2 separate regions of the Homo sapiens genome follow, and region 2 is linked to region 1. The links are contacts of gene promoters, found by promoter capture Hi-C in human tissues and cell types (Jung and others, 2019). All regions are on one chromosome and are shown on one strand. Each heading gives the region's core, a stretch centred on a gene start or on the middle of the fragment in contact. The rest is flanking DNA. Distances are from core to core; before and after follow the strand shown. Region 1 holds the start of KCNK6 (potassium two pore domain channel subfamily K member 6). Region 2 overlaps SIPA1L3 (signal induced proliferation associated 1 like 3).

Evidence for each region. The method cuts DNA at HindIII sites, captures the fragments that hold promoters and counts their contacts. A contact is called where the count stands out against the background at its distance.
Region 2: a contact is called between a fragment that was not itself captured here and the fragment with the promoter of KCNK6 in region 1, in 2 of the 25 tissues and cell types used here (bladder and dorsolateral prefrontal cortex).

What each region holds. Positions count from the first base shown.
Region 1 is chr19:38,318,192-38,325,169 of GRCh38, forward strand. KCNK6 (potassium two pore domain channel subfamily K member 6) reads left to right here and starts at 1,654. Exons shown (of 3, transcript NM_004823.3): 1 at 1,654-2,081. The coding sequence starts at 1,760. It also overlaps a transcript of YIF1B not described here. RefSeq lists an enhancer at 1,482-2,105 and a silencer at 1,747-1,836. The HindIII fragment of the contact is 11,421 bases long and covers 1-6,978 here.
Region 2 is chr19:38,139,321-38,146,298 of GRCh38, forward strand. It overlaps SIPA1L3 (signal induced proliferation associated 1 like 3), which reads left to right. Exons shown (of 22, transcript NM_015073.3): 11 at 1,864-2,115; 12 at 3,253-3,390. Among named protein-coding and RNA genes, the nearest start is that of SNORD152, 20 kb to the right of the region's middle. RefSeq lists an enhancer at 4,211-5,060. The HindIII fragment of the contact is 6,489 bases long and covers 1,101-6,978 here.

The DNA of each region.
Region 1 (6,978 bases), core at 404-2,903:
TCAAAAAAAAAAAAAAAAAAAAAAAAAAAGCAAGTTCATTAGTTCATTGGCTTCCTGCTGGCCTCATGTTCACCCCTTACCAGTTGTGTGACTACTACTTTTTATTTTTTTGAGGCAGGGTCTACTCTATCACCCATACTGGAGTGCAGTGGTGCGACCATAACTCATTGCAGTCTCTAATTCCTGAGCTCAAACGATCCTCCTGCCTCAGCCTCCCGAGTAGCTGGGACTACAGACGCATGCCACCACACTTGGCTAATTTTTGTATTTTTTGTCGAGATGGGGTTTTGCCATGTTGCCCGAGCTGGTCTCAAATGACTACTTCATTTTTAAGCCTAAATTTTCTCATCTGTTTAGTGGGAATTATATTGGGACGGGGTTGAGAATTCAGTGCAAGTTCAGGTGTCCACAGGGCCTGGCAGAATGTAAGCCTTCGATCACTGGCACCTATTGTGTTACTGATTCTATTATCAGGTGCCTCTGCTTCTGGATTGTCAACCCCAAGTTGGGCTCTGCCCGGTGATCTGCCAGCTCTTTAATAGAACCAGCTGGGACATGTCTGAGCTGAGCCCCAAGCCCCACTCCTCTGCCAGTCGGATGGGGTTAGGACTCTGGGCTGCCCTCCAAAAGGCTGTCAGGAAGGCGCTGAGTTCTGGCTGGAGGCAGAAGTGGAGAGACTTACGGGGGGGCGCAGAAAGAAAAATTTCCTCTTAAATAGAGGCGTGTATTTGTGATTCTGCCTGGCTTGTTTCCATTCATCCTTCATGCTTCAGCTCAGCTAGCCCCTTCCTCAGGAAGCTCTCTTGACCTCCCTAGGCAGGGGTGGTTGCTTCCTCTGGACTCCCAGGGCCCTCTAGGGCTCCCTGATTCCAGGCTTGATCATTGTACCCTTGCTTCCCTCATCACAGCCCTGACCACTCTGGGCTGTCTTTTTTCTTTTTTTTAGAGATAGGGTCTCACTCTCTCCCAGGCATAGCTCACTGCAGCCTCGAACTCCTGGGCTCAAGCAATCCTCCGACCTCAGCCTCCCGAGTAGCTGGGACAACAGGCGTGGGTCACTCTTGTGTCAGTCTCCCAGTTAGACTGGGAGCCCCATGAATGCATGGCGCAGGATGGTCTCATCATTACTGAGTCTCCAGGATCATCCAGCGAGGGGTCAGCAGAAAGTGGGCATTGAACAAAGCTTTGGTGAGTAGCTGAGGATCCCCACTCTGTCCACACGGGCACAGGGGACACCTGACTCTGTGGTGTCCGCTGTTCCCACTCCGAGGCTCACAACTTGGCGAATGGAGCGAGAATTGGATTTCAGTTTGCCCCTTGCTCCGTCAGCCGCGCGCCCTGATGCAGTGCACAACCTTAGCTGCTGTGCGCGATGGGGGGCGACTCCTCGGCCTGCGAGCAGAGAGGAAAGTTCAGATTCTTCTAACATAGAGAACCAGCCTTCCAGGAGGACGAGAAGGAAGGAATGAGGGGAAGAGAGGACTACCTCCACCCTTTCCATCCCGTTGGTCTGCTGGGTCTGGGAGCACTGGGCTCCACCCTCTCCGAACGAACACCTGGCGGTTGGGCGTGCCTCAGTTTCCCGGAGGCGGGGCATTCCTCCGTCGCCGCCCCCCACCTCCCCTTTTTCCTCTTCCTCTTGGGGCATCTGCTGCCGCGCCTGTAGCACTCCCGGAACTGGAACTAGGTGCCAGACGGTCCGGAGGCGGGGGCCACGTCAGCGGGGCCACCCAGGGCTCGCGGGGTCCCGGTGGGTGCCATGCGGAGGGGCGCGCTTCTGGCGGGCGCCTTGGCCGCGTACGCCGCGTACCTGGTGCTGGGCGCGCTGTTGGTGGCGCGGCTGGAGGGGCCGCACGAAGCCAGGCTCCGAGCCGAGCTGGAGACGCTGCGGGCGCAGCTGCTTCAGCGCAGCCCGTGTGTGGCTGCCCCCGCCCTGGACGCCTTCGTGGAGCGAGTGCTGGCGGCCGGACGGCTGGGGCGGGTCGTGCTTGCTAACGCTTCGGGGTCCGCCAACGCCTCGGACCCCGCCTGGGACTTCGCCTCTGCTCTCTTCTTCGCCAGCACGCTGATCACCACCGTGGGTACGTAAGCGCCTCACCGCAAGGCGGCGAGGACCCGGGATCCCCACTTCATCCTTAACCCCTGGGGACCCCGGGGCCCTCACGAATACCCTTATCCCAATCCCCTCTGGGCTTCGGATCCCCCGAAAAGACCCCAGTGAGGACCCGGGACCCAGGCTCATGATATCTGCTCTGCTCGGGGAGCCCAAGTCCGAGCCCTTCCTCCTAAGTAGGAAACACCCAGCTCCCCTCAGAGTACCTTTGCAGAGACCAGCTGGGACCCCGTTCCTCGGTCTTTTTTTTTTTTCTTTTCTTTTTCTTTTTTTGAGACAGGGCTTACTCTGTCGCCCAGGCTGGAGTGCAGTGGCACGATCTCGGATCACGGCAGCCTCCGCCTCCCGGTTTCAAGCTATTCTCCTGCTTCAGCCTGCCGAGTAGCTGGGATTACAGGCACATACCACCATGCCTGGCTAATTTTTGTATTTTCAGTGGAGACGGAGTTTCACCATGTTGGCCAGGCTGGTCCCAAACTCCTGACTTCAGGTGATCAGCCCGCCTCGCCCTCCCAAATTGCTGGCATTACAGGCTTGAGCCACTGCACTGGGACTGCATTCCCCGGTCTTAATCCTCTTGGTGACCCGGGTCTGTCCAGCCCCCTCTAAGCCTAGGACTGTCCTCAGAGACCTCCAGCAAGGACCCAGGACACGCCACCCTCCAAGGGAGATCCTTGCCCCCTCTGGACCCAGAACTCAACCATGCCAGGACCCCTGACTTTATCTCTAGTCTGGGCCTGCCACCCTTGCCATGTCTCCTGACCCTCCAGATATGTCCTTCTGGGAAACCCCCCTGGAGAAACCCCATCTCAACCTCCTCCTGACCCTGGCGCCTTAGCGAGGACCCTAAATCTCCAGACCTCTCAGGGTGTCCTCACTAAAGACCTCCCTCCCAACAGAGATTCCTCAGCAAGGACCTGGCACCGCCATCTGGGACTCCTGGCCCTCTGGACCTGGGCCTCTGCTCCAGACTGTCATCTGTCTCCTGGCCCCATACTCCCCAGCAGGCAACTCTGACCCCAGACACAAAACCCTTCCCTAGGTACCCCACCCCATCTTGACATCTCCCCTATATGGGGTCACTCTCAATGCAGGATTTTCCTCCCAATAGGGACACCACCTGTTCCCTCTGGACCTGGGACTCCCAATTCAGCAGCCCCAGCTAGGGATGTGTCAAAAGGACCCACCGTGGAGGGACCCCGAGTTTTGGGAAACCCTGAGAAGCCAGACTTGGGAAATCTCTTTGTTGCCAGGCTCTGCTGCTCCCCCAGCCCCTTCTCAGCTCCCAGACTTCCTCTTTGTTTCTTTGTTGGGGATTTGTTGAGGAGAGGAGGCTGGTGCAGGGTTAGCCCAGACTCCTAACTCGCCCTCCCGGCCAACAATAGGGGGCAGCTTTTGCTTTTGGTCCCCTGGCAGCAGAGCTGGGTGACTTCTCGTTAGCTGACCTCCCCTGGGTCTGCCCATGCTGCCAGGGCGGCCTGACCTGCTTCTGAGCTTCCCTGGGTCATGTGCACGCCTCCTACCTCTTCCCAGATCCTGGCTTCTAAGAAGTCATCCCTGGCAGGGCAGATGAGGGAAGCCAGACACACGTCAGGCACAGCCTGGCTACATCCCTGCTCAGCCGCGGCTCATTGCCAGGCCTCAGTGTCCTCCCCCATTGCTAAAATGGAGATAATAACACTCCCCATTTCCCTGTAATAGCAGTAGCCTGACAGAGGACTTGCCAATGCATGCTTTAACTCACTTAATCATCACAACAGCCTTGTGAGGCAGGCGCCTTTATAGGCTGTATATTTTTAGCCATGGAAACCGAAGCCTAGAGAAGTTGGGTAACTTTCCTAAGGTCACACAGCAAAGACGGCATAGAGTAGAGATTTAGTCAAGGCCATCAGGCTCTAGAGTCCCATGCTGCTAGCCAACACACCACACTACTTAGAAGAAGGGTGCTGTGTGTGTTGTAAAAGAAAAAAATATGCTAACACTTGTTAAAAATGGAAAGTTATTGTGGTAGAGGAGAGACCATTGCAAAGGCCAGAGAGACTGAACTCAACTGTGAATATAGCAAACACAGCTGGAGTTTTATGGCTAACAAGTAGAATAAGGGAGTCAGTGGATGGAAGAATACTAAGAGGAGAGACATTCGGGTAGGGGGATTCTTGCTAAACTCAGCTTAACAAGATTCTTGCTAAAGACAGGCCAAGGACTTAGATATTGAGAGGGGGTGGATGAGGGCCAGGCGCAGTGGCTTACGCCTATAATCCCAGCACTTTGGAGGGCCGAGGTGGGCAGATCACCTGAGGTTAGGAGTTCGAGACCAGCCTGACCAACATGGTGAAACCCCGTCTACTAAAAATACAAAAATCAACCGAGCATTGTGGCAGGCACCTGTAATTCCAGCTACTCGGGAGGCTGAGGCAGGAGAATCACTTGAACCTGGGAGGCAGAGGTTGCAATAAGCTGAGATTGTGCCACTGCACTCCAGCCAGGGCAACAGAGTGAGACTCCATCTCAAAAAAACAAAAAACAGGCCGGGCAAGTTGGCTCACGCCTGGAATCCCAGCACTTTGGGAGGCTGAGGCGGGCGGATCACCTGAGGTTAGGAGTTCGAGACCAGCCTGGCCAACATGACGAAACCCCATCTCTACTAAAAATACAAAAATTAGCCAGGCATGATAGTGCGTGGCTGTAATCCCAGCTACTTGGGAGGCTGAGGCAGGAGGATCACTTGAACCTGGGAGGCGGAGGTTGCAGTGAGCCGAGATCTCGCCCCTGCACTCCAGGCTGGGCGTTAGAGCAAGACTCTGTCTCAAAACAAACAAACAAAAAAGAGTGGTGGATGAGGAATTTGATCAGATATCGGGGTGGGTGGCTTGTAGGATTCTTGCTAAAACTGGGCCTACTTAAGGACTCAGGAGTCAGACTGAAGTGCGGTCAAGGAGGGAGTCTTTGTCCGTGCGAAGCGCTGGTAATAACTGATGTTTATTGAGTTAATGTTGACTGTTTTCATAGTGGGTGAAGCCTTGAATGCATCTGGAGAAGTGGAAAACCAATTAAACGTGATTCAGAGAGACCTCTTCCCACAATGCCCCTCGTTTGGTCATAGGCCCAAATCTTGGCCCTGGAATTGATCTGGGCAGCCTTGCTGCACTTGAGGCAGGAGGAAGCGGGTAGTCCTACCCGGAACTGGGAATCGGAGAGAGGAAGTGAGCATTACAATCCTTGTAACTCTTTCCACGCTCTTGCTAGGCACTATGCCCTATCCCAGCCTAGTAGGATTACTACCACATTTGAGGAAGGGATTGTTTTTTGTTTTTCAGACAGGGTCTTGCTCTGTCACCCAGGCTAGAGTGCAGTGGCGCAGCCTTGACCTCCTGGGCTTAAGTGATCCTCCCACCTCAGCCTCCTGAGTAGTTGGAACCACACGTGCACGCCACTGCACCCAGCTAATTTTTTTATTTTTTATTTTTTGTAGAAGGTGGTCTCCCTATGTTGCTCAGGCTGGTCTCAAACTACTCCTAGGCTCAAGCGGTTCTCCTGCCTTGGCCTCCCAAAGTGCTGGAATTACAGGTGTGAGCCACCTTGCCTGGCCAGGAAGGGATTGCTTACGAGCCCATTTTTGCAGAGAGGGAACTGAGCCTCAGAGGGGAGAAGTCATCTGGCCAAAGTCATGCAGGGAGTAAATGGCAAAACACTGTTTTGGACTCTTCTCTTTGAAATAGTAACTTGAGGCTCACAGGCCCCATGCTTTTCAAACTCTATGATTTGTCTATTTATAAAGATCTCTTTTATTATTATTATTTTTTTTTACAGAGATAGGGTCTTGCTATGTTACCCAGGCTGGTGTCAAACTCCTGGGCTCAAGTAATCCTCCCACTTTGGCCTCCCAAAGTGCTGGGATTATAGGAATGAGCCACCTCACCCAGCCTGTTTATAAGGATTTCATGTCATTTGCAAACCTGCCAGGCTGCTGGAGTTTCCCCATCAAAAACCCTTGTATTAATGAGGGTTGGGGGTCATAAGTGATACACCTCAAATTACAGTTGCTTAAATAAGAAGTGTATTTCTTGTTCACATTCCAGGTAGTCAGTCCAAGTCGTACTGCATGGTCAGAGACCTAGGCTCCTTCTCAGCAAAACCCTGGTGTTCCTGCCTAACTCCTCTGCGCAACTTCCATTCCCAAGGTCGCCTAATGGTCCAAGATGGCTGTGTAGCTCCAGCCTCCATGTCTGTGCTCCAGCCAGCAAGAGGAGGGAGGAAAGAAGGGAGACTGGCATCCCTCGCTCCTTAAGGACCCTTCCTGGAAGTTGCCTGACTCTTTCATGAATACCTCATTGGCCAGAGATTAGTCACAGAACCACACCTGGCTCTGCAAGGGAGGAGGGAACGTCCTGATTCCAAAAGGCCATGTATCCAGCTAAAACCCAGGGGGAGCCTTTTAAAATTATTATTATTGTTATTATTTTTTAAAGTAGAGATAGGGTCTTCCTATGTTACCCAGGCTGGTCTCAAATTCCTGGGCTCAAGTGATCCTCCCACCTTAGCCTCCTAGAGGGCTGGGGTTACAGGTGTGAACCACCATGCCTGGCTGGGATCATTTCTTTTCCCAAGTTTTTTATTATAGTAAAATACACATAACATAAAATGTACCATCTTAGTCATTTTTAAGGGTACAGTTCTGTGACATTAAATACATTCATATTGTTACCATCATCACCTTCATCTTTTTTTTTTTTAATAGATACGAGGCTGGCCATGCCATGTGGGAGATGGAGTTATTGCTCAACTCAAATCACTCTCCACCATCCATCTCTAAAACTTTTTTTTTTTTTTGAGACGGATTCTTGCTCTGTCACCCAGGCTGGAAT
Region 2 (6,978 bases), core at 3,095-5,594, 180 kb before region 1:
TCACATGCTAATACCTGGAGCCAGGAAGTGGGGTCAGCCCCACCCAGAGCCCATATTAACAAAGACCTGTTATCAGGAGAGGGGGTGTGGGGAGAGACACCAGGCAGGCAGGAATGGCAGGTGTGCACTGCCTGGAGACAGTGATAGTACCTTTCCCCACCTCTGCCCGGGCCTGGCATGTCTACAGGCTCTGATAGACGTTCATATTGTTATTGTTCCTCACCTGGTGCCTGGTGAGACATTGGCAGCTGCCAGTCCAAAGGGACAGCCAGAAGACACTGCCAAGTGTCAGTTCCAGCCATGGCGCTACCGAGGGGTGCGGTGTGTCGGGCCCTGGGTGCCAGAGCGCATCCACCTCTGTCTTAGTCTGTTTTGTGCTGCTATGACAGAATATATGAGATCGGATAATGGATAAAGAACAGACATACATTTCTCACAGTTGTGGGGGCTGCAGGTTCAAGATCCAGGCACTGGCAGGATAGGGCCTGGTCTTTCTACTTCCATGATGGGGCCTTGAATGCTGTGACCTCTGGAGGACAGGAACGCCACGTCCAAATACAGCAGAAGAGAAGAAGAGAGAGAGTCCACTCCCGCAAGCCCTTTCTATAGTGGCATTCATCCATTCATGAGGGCTCTGCCCTAAGCTCCTCCCACTAGTCCCCACCTCCCAACAGTGGCATTGGGGGTTAAGTTTCCAACACGTGACTTTTGGGGGAACACACATCCAGACCATAGCAGCCTCTGAACCACCATATCCACCAGATCTTTTGCTGGGTGGCCATGAACGGGGTGGCTCCAGGGAATTCAGGAGACACTCAGAGGATCAGCTCGATGGGGGTATGGGCACTTCCAGGCTGAAGGCTCCTCTGAGCTCAGCTCTCAGCTGCCAGGAGGTGGATTTCATGAGCATGGCTCGGGGACCCCTCCCATGCAGGGCTGCAGTGGCAGTGGAGAATGCCAGCCCAGCCGGCGGATCTCCCCGCCTCAAGCCAGGAGCACCATGGTGCATGTGCCAGCCTGGTCTAGGGGGAGTCACAGGTCTCTCTGCATCTATTTCAAGGTTGTAGATTTCATGGCTTTTTTTTTTTTTTTTAACCACCCCACAAAGTAGGTCACCTGCTCCTCTTCCAGCTGCCTTTAAGATTCTTTGGAACAAGGCAGTTACTGTCCTTTGATTCTGAGGACATCCGCCTTTCTGGCCCTGAGTACCGCTAAGGGGGGCCAGGCAGGTCTGTCGAGGACACTGGCGGCCTGGCAGCCGTGTGGCCTGGGTCAGGTAGAAGCGAGGGGCGGGAACAGAGAATTCGAGTGGGAGGAGGGAAGAGGAGATGAGGTGGAAAGGGCCAGGCAGTCGGAGTCCCTGTGTTGGGTCCCGTCCTGGTTGAAGACTCTGAGCTGGTAAGTTTCAGACCATTTTAAGGAGTATTCACTCGACTTTTAAAATAGGCCATCCCCAGCCGGGCGCGGTGGCTCACTCCTATAATCCCAGCATTTTGGGAGGCTGAGGCGGGTGGATAACCTGAGGTCAGGAGTTCGAGACCAGCCTGGCCAACATGGTGAAACTCTTTCTCTACTAAAAATACAAAACTTAGCCGGGCGTAGTGGCGCTTGCCTGTAGTCCCAGCTACTCAGGAGGCTGAGGCACGAGAATCGCTTGAACCCAGGAGGCAGAGGTTGCAGTGAGCCAACATCATGCCGCTGTACTCCAGCCTGGGCGACAAAGCAAGACTCTGTCTCAAAAAAAAAAAAAAAAAAAAAAAAAGCCATCCCGGTTTATATTGGGCCAGGAAAACCCAGCCTAGACAGCAGGCCCACGTGTTGGTGGGCTGGGGCCTTTCTGAGTAATGCAGTTTTTCTCCCCAGGGGTTGGCCGGAGACCTACGACATGAATACCTCGGAGCCCAAGACGGAGCAGGAAAGCATCACTCCTGGGGGCCGGCCCCCCTACCGCAGCAATGCTCCCTGGCAGTGGAGCGGGCCCGCATCCCATAACTCTCTACCAGCCTCCAAGTGGGCCACTCCAACCACTCCCGGCCATGCCCAGTCCCTGAGCCGGCCCCTGAAGCAGACCCCCATAGTCCCCTTCCGGGAGTCCCAGCCACTGCACAGCAAGAGGTAAGCACCTGCTGGGGGGACCAATACTTCCCAACCCCCACCAGCCCACACCCATCCTCCGCCCCTCCCTCTCCTCACTATTTCCTCCATCCTCTTCCTCGCCTCAAGCTTTCGACCTTCCTTCTTATCCTTATGTCTCCCTTGTTCCTCCCTCCCTCCTTCGTTTCAGCTTTCACCGTTGGCCTCTTGTCTGGGGACCCAGTGCTGGGGAGCTCTGGGTTAGAAATCCATTATACTAAGTAGACGACTGAAGCTCTGCTTTTTAGGCTGGGCACGGTGGCTCACGCCTGTAATCCCAACATTTTGGGAGGTCAAGGCAGGAGCATTGCTTGAGGCCAGGAGTTAGAGAGCTTGGGCAACATAGCAGAACCCTGGCTCTATAAAAAACATTTATTAAAAATTAGCCAGGTGTGATGCACACCTGTGGTCCCAGCTGCCCAAGAGGCTGAGGTGGGAGGATGGCTTGAGCCCAGAAGTTGGAGGCTGCAGTGAGCTGTGATTGCACCACTGCACTCCAGACTGAGCAATACCTTATCTCTGAAAAATAAAATAAAATAAAACTGTTATTTTTAAGGTGAAGGGACTGATAAGCACAAAATTTAGGACAGTGACTTCTTCCTGGAGGAGGCAGGGAAATGGGAAGTGGGGAAGCCCACAGGTAGATGTTAGCACCACCGTTCTAGTCCTGGGGTTGGCTGGTAGCTTCAGGGAGTTTGTTTTATGATGATGACAAATATAACTTAACAGATACTCTTTTGAAGATATTATATATTAAAAGATAAAAAGAAAATTTTCCAAAAAATGAAGGAATCCAACTTGCAGAGGGACATCTTGTCCCCAGGGGGCAGAGGCGAGAATGGTCTTGAGCAGCCTGCAGAAGCTGTGAGTTGCGGGCAGCCGCAGTGGATCCGGGAAGAGGGGGCCCAGGAGCATCCCAGCTTCTCTCGCCCTGTGCTCAGCATCCTCCCCTTCATCCTGAGCAGTGAATAGCAGAAGGGATGTGGCTGGGCGGGGGAAAGTTCGGTTGGTCTGTCTGTCTGTCCGTCTGTCCATCCATCTGTCTGTCCGTCCATCCTCCCAGGGCAGGGGTACCCTCCTACTCACCCTCTGCCTCCTTCCTCCCCTGTCTCCTTCTAGGCCTGTCAGCTTCCCAGAAACCCCTTACACAGTATCACCAGCAGGGGCCGACAGAGTCCCTCCCTACCGACAGCCTTCTGGGAGCTTCTCCACCCCCGGTTCGGCCACCTACGTGAGATACAAGCCATCCCCAGAAAGGTCAGCCTCCCTCAATTCTTTTCATGTTAAGGGATCTGATGAAAGCTGTGCCTCCTTCTTCCCCAGCAAATGCACACCCCCACAATTCTAGTTGCCATTTTATGGTGTTTCTGGACCCCTGAAGGTCCTCAGAGGAGCCCCATGGGGTGGTTATGTCTCAAGTTTTGGAGCAAAACTGGGCCGGGCTGGGCAGGACCCATCGTTGGCTTTCCTTGCAGCAGAATTTTGATTGCTGTTCTCTTGACACCTGTCAAGCAAGAGCATCCACTATCCAGCACGGCCATGCATCTAACTCTCTCCAGCCCTAAGCCCCTAGGACCAGGCTGCCAGCATTACCCAGTTTTCGAGATCTTTCAGGATTCAGTTCTGCCCACTTGCGTCCATCTGCAACCTGGCAGCCTGAGAGATCTCCCCAAACCCTCCATGGCTCCCCACCAGCCTGAGAGATCTCCCCAAACCCTCCATGGCTCCCCAGTGCCCTCAGGATAAACTTGGCATTCAAGGCCCTTCAGGCTCTGGCTCCGGCTGAGCTTATTCCCCAGCTGCCTTCAGCCCTCGTGCCCTCTGTTCTTCCTCTGCCCCCAGGTCCCTGTCTCAGGGGCAGCCACATCAATCCTAGTCCTTGGGCCTGAGCTGTGGCCCTCATCCTGTGAATGTCCCCTTCCTCCTCCTCCTTGCAGTGGTCCTCCTCCTGAGCATCTCTGTCACCCACCCTCTCCTCCTTTCCCTGTTCTCTTGCCCAGGCCACCACAGTGGGCTTCCAGCCTTCATCTCACCTCCCCTGGTCTACCCTCCACTCAACACTCAACAGCCAGAGGGATCTTTCTGTGTCTTTTTTTTTTTTTTTTTTTTTTGAGACCACTCTGTCGCCAGACTGGAGTGCAGTGGCGCAATCTCAGCTCACTGCAACCTCCACCTCCCGGGTTCAAGTGATTCTCCTGCCTCAGCCTCCCAAGTAGCTGGGACTACAGGCTCTCGCCACCACGCCCAGCTAATTTTTGTATTTTTAGTAGAGACGGATTTTCACCATGCTGGCCAGACTGGTCTCAAACTCCTGGCCTCAAGCGATCCGCCTGCCTCAGCTTCCCAAAGTGCTGGGATTACAAGTGTGAGCCCGTGCACCTGGCCAGATCTTTCTATACCTGAACATGCCTGTCCCCTGCTCCAAACCCTCCCACCACTCCCAGAGCCCTCAGGACACAGCTTTGGCCCCTCCCTGTGGCCACCAGGGCCCCTGCGAGTCTCGTGCAGTGCCACACTTTAGCCACACTGGCCACTCCCAGCTTCCTAGGGGGACTGTCTGTATTTCAGAGCCTTGATGGTGTTCCTTCCTTGGCCTGAATATGCTTCACACTCCTCGCCCACACTCCCCCCATCCTACCAACTCAAGCTTCTGTGCCCCTCTCCAGAACCCTTCTCTGGAGCTCCCTCTTGAGGCAAGGCACTGCCCCCCAATTCCTGTGTATTTCCTGACTGTGGCCTTGAGCACTCTTCATCCTTATTAGCCAGCTAAGAGTGTGTGTGCTTGCGCACGTGCATGTATGTGCACCTGTAAGAGAGCGAGAGAGAGACAGAGAGGGTAAGCGTGCTCTTCAAGACCTCCCATCACATAGTACACAGTCCGACACATGGCTGATCTTTGGTATATATTGGATGAAAGGATGGAGTGAGTGGGTTTGTTAAAATGAAACCACCTGCCTTAAGACCAGGGATCAGGCCACCAAACCAGTGGTTCTCAATCTTTAGCAGGCATTGGAATCACCCAGAGGAGGACTTGTTAAAATACAGATTATTGGGCCTGAGCCCCAAATTTCTGACCTGGTAGGTTCGGGGTGCTGCACCAGGGACCATTCTCTGAGAGTCACCACAGTCATCCATTGTTAGATTCTAAGCCTCTTGTTCAATTGGAGAAACACGCCCACTGTTTCTTCTTCTAGTAGCCACCATTCAGCTTTCATTCAGCAAAGGGTCTCAAGAGCTTTCTGGCGTGCCAGGAGGAGTATTTGAGATACTCAATTACGAGGGGGTTCTGTAGTCAGCCCTTGCTGACTGTGATGGAGAGGATCGTAAAAACCATGTGCACTCTGATGAGCACTCTAATAGAGGAAGAGGGAACACAGCCCAGCACTGGAGGTCTAGACTGGCTGCCTGGAGGAGGTGACATCTGAACAGAAGTTTGAGGGACTAATAGGAGTCTGCGACAGAGAGGAGAGAAAAAGTCATTCCAAACAGAGTAAAGGCCACAGATATGAACAAGCAGGATGCTGTGAAACACAGGAGAATCAGAGAGGAATCGGGTGTGTGCGGGACATGGGGTGTGGGGGCACCCAGGTGACAGCAGGGGCTGAGGTTGGAAATGGCAGTCAGAGTGACTCACCAGTAACAAAGGTGGTGGCAGTGGTGTTACCGAAAGCTCTTGGGAACTGTTGTTGTTGTTGTTGTTTTCTCCTAAAGTCTTGGTATCTGCCTTTATTATTTTAACTTTTTATTTTGTAATAATTACTGAGTCACAGGAAGTTGCCAAAAAAAACATACAGGTGGCCGGGCACAGTGGTTCACGCCTGTAATCCCTGCACTTTGGGAGGCCGAGATCGGTGGATCATCTGAGGTCAGGAGTTCGAGACCAGCCTGGCCAACATGATGAAACCCCGTCTCTACTGAAAATACAAAAAATTAGCTGGGTGTGGTGGCACGCGCCTGTAATCCCAGCTACTCAGGAGGCTGAAGCGAGAGAATCGTTTGAACCTGGTAGGTGCAGGTTGCAGTGAGCCAAGACTGTGGCACTGCACTCCAGCCTGGGCAACAGGAGCAAAAACTCCGTCTCAAAAAAAAAAAAAAAAAAAAGAATACAGGGAGGTCTTGTGAACCTGAACCCTTCACGCAGCCTCCCCTATTGTTAACATCTTGTATGGTTATAACGCAATATCAAAGCAAGAGGTTGACATGGGTACAGGCCTACAGCTTATTCAAAATTCACCAGTTATACATGCACTCATTTGTGTGTGTGTGTCTGTAGCTCTGTGCAATTTTATCACATGTGAAGTGTTGTGTAACCATCACGAGGTGCCTCATGCTACCCTTTTATAGCCACACCCATCTCTTCCCCCTGTGCCTAACCCCTGGCAACCATTCACCATTCATCTGTTCTGAGGCTCTTTTTTTTTTTTGGAGACAAAGTCTCACTCTGTCAGCCAGGCTGGAGTGCAATGGCACGATCATATAGCTCACTGAAGCCTCACTCTTCTGGGCCCAAGCAGTCCTCCCATCTCAGCTTTGCAATTAGCTAGGACTGCAGGCATGCACCGCCACACCCAGCCAATTTTTCTTTTCTTTCATAGAGACAAGGTCTCGCTGTGTTGCTGAGACTGATCTTGAAGCCCTTGCCTCAAGCCATCCTCCCACCTGGACATCCCAAAGTGCTAGGATTACAGGCGTGAGCCACCACACCCAACCTGTCTTTTAATTATTGTTATTTCATGATGAATGTTAGATAAAAAGAATCAGATGTACGTATGCTTCAGAGGTTGTCTTTTTCACTCAGCAGAATGTCCTTAAGGTTCATCCACGTTGTCGCGAGTCTCTAGTTCA